2 separate regions of the Homo sapiens genome follow, and region 1 is linked to region 2. Evidence: promoter capture Hi-C in human tissues and cell types (Jung and others, 2019). All regions are on one chromosome and are shown on one strand. The core of a region is centred on a gene start or on the middle of the fragment in contact, and the rest is flanking DNA. Distances in the headings are between cores, read along the strand shown.

Region 1 (3,280 bases), core at 214-2,713, 100 kb after region 2:
GCAACTTAGGGGATGGGTCAATAGGTGCAGCAAACCACCGTGACACATGTATACCCATGTAACAAACCTGCATGTTCTGCGCATGTATCCTGGAACTTAAAGTTAAAAAAAAGAAAGAAATCTGAAAACACTAAATAAGAAGCAGGAGAGATGCAAGTCCTAAAGGGCAGGAAAAATTATGGTAGGACCAATGCCTTTGGCAAGAAAGGAGTAGACAGGTAACCAATTTTTAAGCCTCTGCTTTTCCTCTTTCTAACTTTATGACCTTGAGTTTAGGATCCCCTTTGATAAAAGAGAGGAAGAAAAATTGCATAAAAAGAGATAATTGAGAGCTTCTTGAGACTTTTCCTCAGAAACAAGGACACGATCGCAAATCTGATGAAGGTAAAAATACCAAAGGAATGTCAGATAGTACTTTTGAGATAGTAGGACAAAGAAAGGATGGAAATGGCTGCTATGTCAAAGTAATCTAATAATAGAGGTTCATGAATGCTTGTGTGAGGAGTCTAAAGTATTTTTGAAGGGAGATTAATATTGATAAGCTTTCTTCCATATATCTTGCCTCATCTGGATTAAATATAAGTTGACAGCAGTCCATAAACTCCTGTAAGCAAGCTAGTTGTTTCTTCATTTTTTATTGTATTAAACCACTGGACCCGATTAAGCTCAGTTCTGAAATTGCAGAATCTTTTGATGTAGTGAGCTGCCACAACGCTCAGGGGTATTACTATTAGGATAAGCATGAAAATTTGAAAATGGGATTATTCTGTTTAAAAACTTTTAGTGGCCCTATTATTGCAGACAGAATAAAAGCATACTCCTTTAAGAAATGGAAATCCTTTGCAATCATTAGCTTATCTCGCCTTTAAGCTACTTCCTTAATACTCTTGGCCATGGTCCATCAGGAAACAGTACACTCACACTGGATAATTGTGGAGAGTTTAGTAGAAGTGTCAAATACATGTTAGGTATTATAATAAAAATAATTAAGAACTCCTTGCCGGAAACAGCATGATAAAAACATCAATAAAAATTGTAGTTGGCTTATGAGGTTTCTTATGTTAAACACACACACACACACACACACACACACACACAGCTAAATTGAGATGTAAATCCAATTCAGGGTAAGGTGTAAATATTCAGTTTACATGCAAGGGATCAGGTCTGATAAAGCACGATGCAATTTAAAGATTAATAAAATTAACAAAATTATCCAGATCTATAAATTATACTCAAAACACAAGTGGACATAGCCATTCTCCTGTCCTTGGTAACCTTTTTTCTACCAAATTTTACTAGATAACTGGTCCTATAGAAATGGATATGACTTAGTACTGGTAGGAATAAATTTATTTTGTTTTTAATGAAAAAAAGTAGGGAGAAAGGGACTATTTATTTTGCCACCAAAGTTTGGCATTTTAAATCTGAGCTCTATAATTTAGTATCTGCTGGTAATGAAAGCTCCTGAGGTGGAGAATACGTGACTAGAAAGGAAGCAAAGCATTTATGGCAACCAACATGCTTTCACTTATATTACTGCACTAAATAGAACTTTGAAGTCAGCAAGGCAGAGCATGTTATAATCCTTACTTTACAGCTGAAAAATCACAGATTTAGGGCATTTGCAGTTGGTTCAGTGTCCCATAGTTTATTAATAGTACAGTTAGAATAAGAATCTCTAAGACTGCTAAAATCAGACTCTAGGAGTCTTTCATGCAATTCAGTTTAATCCAATCAAGCAGCCATGAGTATCAGGTACTGATGTTCATTTAAAGTTAGGTGAAAAGAAACTTTATGCTTTGGGAATATATAATCTGGTTTGAGAAAAGAAATTTACAAATTTAATGATACAACTTACAAACTCATTCTGAGGCTTAAAAATCTTTTAAAGGACACAGCACTGTAAATAGAAACACAGGTAAACCACTGCCATGAATTCATGCTGAGAGAGATTACCTGCAGTAAACAATGCATGGTAAACCTTCACTTAAAAAGTTTTCTGATTTCTTACCAAGCCTTTTCCCAAATAATTTATGGATTAAAGTGCTCTGCATTTTGTAAGCATTTCCCCTTATATGCTAAGTCATATAAATGCAGAGAAAAAAATGGTTATTATACGAATCTAGAGAAGATGTATATAATTACTTATATTACATGGTGTCAGTGCTTAATTACAAATTACAGGTGTTCCTCAATTATGATGAGGTGACAGTCCAATAAACCCATCCTACATTGAAAATATACTATATTGAAAGTGCATTTTTGCCTTAAAATATTTTCAATTTAGGGTGGGTTTATCTGGACATACCTCATCTTAAATCAAGGAGCCTATTGAATGCCTATCGCTTTGTACCATGGTGAAGTGGAAAATTGTAAGTCAAACCATCGTAAGTCTGACACCATCTGTACATGGTATTTAGAAATATCTCTATATTGTGGTGAAATTACCTTTGAAATTTTAAGCTTTGGATATTACTATTATGTTCTTCAAGGCACTTATGGAGTAAACGTAGAGTATTTTGCCTTCAATATATGTGCACTCAGGATGTATAGATATTTTTAAAACTAAGGTATTCAATTAAGGAAATCATAGGCATTTTGTTCCCTCCTCCTTACCCCCAGTACCCTAAATAACTTAAATATAATATTAGGCCAAAAGCTGATTATGCAATATACTATAATATTCCTTAGGAAAGATATGAGTACATATTTTATCTTTTTCTAGTGGTTATTAAAAATGAATACATACTCATTCAGATCAATGTAGAAGTGGAGATGAAAATTTTGTATTTTTCCTGAAGCCTCCTTTCTGGCTCTACTTCCATCAGTTACGAGTTAATGCTGCAAGGGACATAGATGTATGAAGTAAATTATATACTCAATTTTATTGAGCTTACTACTGTATGAAAAAATAAAAAAATAAAAGAAATATAAGTTTAATAATAACAATTATTGATTGCTTACCATCAGCAATATACAGTGTTTGCTAAGGTTGTCACTTACATTATCTCCTTTATTTAATTAACTACTTACAGTTAACTATCTCCATTTTTCAGTTGAGAAAAGTGAAGGTTACAAAAATTAAGTAATATACCCAATATATATGCAGCTGGTGTGGGATTAAAACTCAAATTTTTCTAACTCTAGCATCTGACTTTTATACTTTATACTTTATCACCTCACAATGTCTGAATAAGTACCTTTAACATTGCAGAAAATAATTTTTTTGAGACAGAGTCTCGCTCTGTCACCCAAGCTGGAATGCAATGGTGAGATC
Region 2 (3,385 bases), core at 738-3,237:
CAATTTGCCTTGATATTTGCTTTTTCATCATTCCCCCCTCAAAGTCAATTTGATATATAAATTATGTTATCTTCATCTAGATATTGATGCTTTCCTCATTAAATTACTGAAGGTTTTGAAACCTAGTCAGAGACATTGTTAATTTTGTTGAGAAAGAAAAAAAGTAATAATAAATCTGATTGGCTTAATTATCCCAGTGCTTAAATTTAGCCGGAAGAATTTTATATCAGGAAAATAACTCCTTTATTCTTAGCACATAGCCTTGACTGTCTTTTAAATTTCTCAGATTTCAAAATAAAAGTTTGAATGCCCACTGGAGTCCTCACTCAAGGGCTTTCAAGATCCAATGTGTTCCTTAACAATATATGCCATCCAAGCAGTACCTCTTCAGATATGAGAGTGCTACAAAAAGCTTTTTTTCTTTTTTCTGTCAACAAATGACTTTATTTAATCATATCACTAGGAATTCGGCCCTACTAGAGGTAAGAATGTAATTATTATCCATAGTGAGTTTCTTCTGAAAACATTTAGTCTTAAGAACCATCCCAGCTCCACCTCAGTTAACCTACAAGGAGTAATTCAGTGAGAGAAATCCTAGCCATTGTCTGATTACATTACATGAATATTCTCCCTCCTATTTAACTCTTTGAAAGCCTCTGTCCTCGGGAAATATGATTATCACCTTTAATGGACACATTTTACACTTTCTTTACCCTAGTGCATTTACGGACAGCCAGAGCCAGCTCAACCCACACTACTGGACAGTTATCTCTCAGCCACACCCCCCACCACCTTGAAGAAGTTGACTTCATCATTTCCACACTAAAATTGTTCATCCTGCCCAACAGGACACAGCCAAGTAGGCAGGAGGTAGAGAGATAGGAGATGGAGAGGATGAGGTGAAAGCAAAAGGCACCTAACGGTAATCAACAAGGAGGAATTTGCATCTCATCTTCCCTGGGGGCGGGGTGGGGCCGGGGAGGTGGTCAAAAAATACAGCGAAAGGAGACAGTAAAACTCAAAGACAGCTTCTGTACCTAATGTCTGTGATTTCGGGTCCTTGCTTCTTCAATTGATCAATGACAACCGCAGTCTCCGGCTTGAGGAGAAGGGAGGCTCACACCCAGCACTCCTGGACCATTTCCCTAGCAACGGGAGGAGAAAGGCAGCTCAGACACACGCGTGCCCCGGCGCCCTCCCGGAACGTGCCCCGGCCCGGTGGCGTGGCAGGAGCTCGGCATCTTCCCGTGGCTCCGTCAGCAGCCAAAAGGAGAAGCGTCCATCGGAAAAATGGCATATTACAAATTTTGCTTTGGGAAGCAAAGCTCGGTTCAGACCATTGTCAAAGGAGGAGAGGGGGAGGCGGCTCTTAAAGCAGCCGCGGCCCCTTTGCCAGAACAGCCGCAGCTCCCCGCGTGCAGCTGGAGCCCCGGGGCGGAGACCGGAGACCGGGGACTGGGTTTGACTTTCAGAAACTTAACCACGCGGCGCCGCTCCCCCTCCGCGCCCGGGCCACCCGGGGTGTGTGGGGCGTCCCTCCAAAAGAAAGCTTGGAGAAAAGGCGTGAGAAGTATCTGGGAGAGAAGTTCTCCACCCAGTCTCCCCTCCTGGAGCCCCTCTGGAGTTTAAGGCTAACCCTGGGAGTTAGAAACCTAAAGGAAAACGAGTCCCTAGGGATGCAAAAAGCAGGACAGGTCTCCTCCTGGCCCCCAGCCTGTTTCCGCGCGCTCCCGTGTCTCGTTTCACTTAAAGGAGGCGCTTTTTCTCTGGAAAGGCAAACATCACCCCACGCCGTCCCCCGGCCCCCCTTCCCTCCCCCCCGCCGCCCCCCCGCCGCCACAGCACACACACCCATTTTTCTCCTCCCGGCCTTTCTGCAAGCCTCTTTGCTTGCTTCAATTGGCCGGAAGAACCAACCTGCTGGCAGCCGGTGAGGACGCTACAGCATCTTCTCTCCTCACTTGCCTCGTGCGGTGGCTGCTACTCCTCCTCCTCCGTCTCCTCCCCTCCTCCTCCTTGGCAGCCACCACCTCCTCTTCCTCTGGAACAAGGGCTTCCCCTGGAAGCTGCTGCAGTGGTTTCCACCGGCCCTTAAATAAATTCTGAAGTAATCACGTCTTTGCTCTCCTCCTCACGCACACGCGCCCGCGGATACACTCGTCTCCCCCAGAGCCGCTCCCGGGCTGCCGAGGCTCGCTCTGCTCCCAGTGCCCCCTGCGAAGGCGAGGGCCAGGGATGGGCAAAGTGGGAAGGGGGCACACGCTTCCCCGCCTGGGCTTCTTTCACACAATGGGCTCTACAGCCTTCGCTTGTGTCAGCCTGCGCTGGTGGGGATGGGAACGGACTTGGGCACCTTTTGGCTCCCCGGTCTTCTGTGCTTGTCATTTCTTTAAGCAGCTTTCTTCCCACTGGGCCAGGGCATGGTAGTCATGGTTGTAGGGACCTGAGCCAATCTAGGGTGTGGCGGCATCTGTCATTTCTCATTACCTCTTCAGTTCTTCTTCATTCATATTGTTTTGGTAATGGGAATTGTATGTTAAGTATTCCCTGCCCGAGTAAATTTTAGCTTTGAGCAGAGTCTGGTCTCTCCATCGCGCTCCAGTCCCCCTTATATCTCCACCTCCCTTTACCTACCCTCTTTTCTTTCCGTTGCTGCTGTCCATTCATACAGACTGAGGAAGCAGGAGACAAAATCAGTACCTACTCTGAGCAGAAAGGGAACGTTTCTGTGAGGGAGAGTCACGAATCCTGCTGGGTTTGGTGAAAATGAAGAGGACATGCATGAAGGAATTGGAGGATTAAACACTGAATATATTTTGGGGGTTACTGAAAATATTCTGAGTGTGCTACACGAAAGCCAAAAGACGTGTTTTACTTTTGTGTAACGCCAAGAGTCCAAAGTTAACAAAGAACTAGTATGTAAATAACTGTTCACTTAAAATTAACTACAATATCCAAGAAACAATCTTTGTTTCTGAGGGAAGTATTTAATTCAGTTAGCGACTTTACAATGGAAAGTGGGGTAAAGCTCATGTATTTACCCAACTTCTATTCTAGACTGTTATTTAAATTTTACAACACAACACAATCCTATAAGAAGTATAAAAATAATACGAAAATTCATTAGATGTCAACTGGAGCACTATTTCTCAGACATAATGTGCATACAGATCATCCATGGATCTTGTTAAGTTGTAGATACTGATTCACCAGGAATGGGGTGAAACCTGAAATTCTACCCTTCTAATGACTCCCAGATGGTACTACACTTGAGGAGGAAGGGTCTAGACCACCCAATCGACCCACAATTTGATGTGGCTTAAATACCCCTAACTACAGGAAACTCTTCACCTCACAGGATAGCCTAGTCTATTTTCAGACAAAC

What was found. The method cuts DNA at HindIII sites, captures the fragments that hold promoters and counts their contacts. A contact is called where the count stands out against the background at its distance.
Region 1: a contact is called between a fragment that was not itself captured here and the fragment with the promoter of PPFIA2 in region 2, in 2 of the 25 tissues and cell types used here (H1 embryonic stem cells and aorta).

Annotation. Positions count from the first base shown.
Region 1 is chr12:81,858,823-81,862,102 of GRCh38, forward strand. No RefSeq gene overlaps it. Among named protein-coding and RNA genes, the nearest start is that of LINC02426, 93 kb to the right of the region's middle. The HindIII fragment of the contact is 3,559 bases long and covers 1-3,243 here.
Region 2 is chr12:81,757,363-81,760,747 of GRCh38, forward strand. PPFIA2 (PPFI scaffold protein A2) reads right to left here and starts at 1,988. Exons shown (of 33, transcript NM_003625.5): 1 at 1,918-1,988; 2 at 1,038-1,145. RefSeq lists an enhancer at 848-1,786. The HindIII fragment of the contact is 8,978 bases long and covers 981-3,385 here.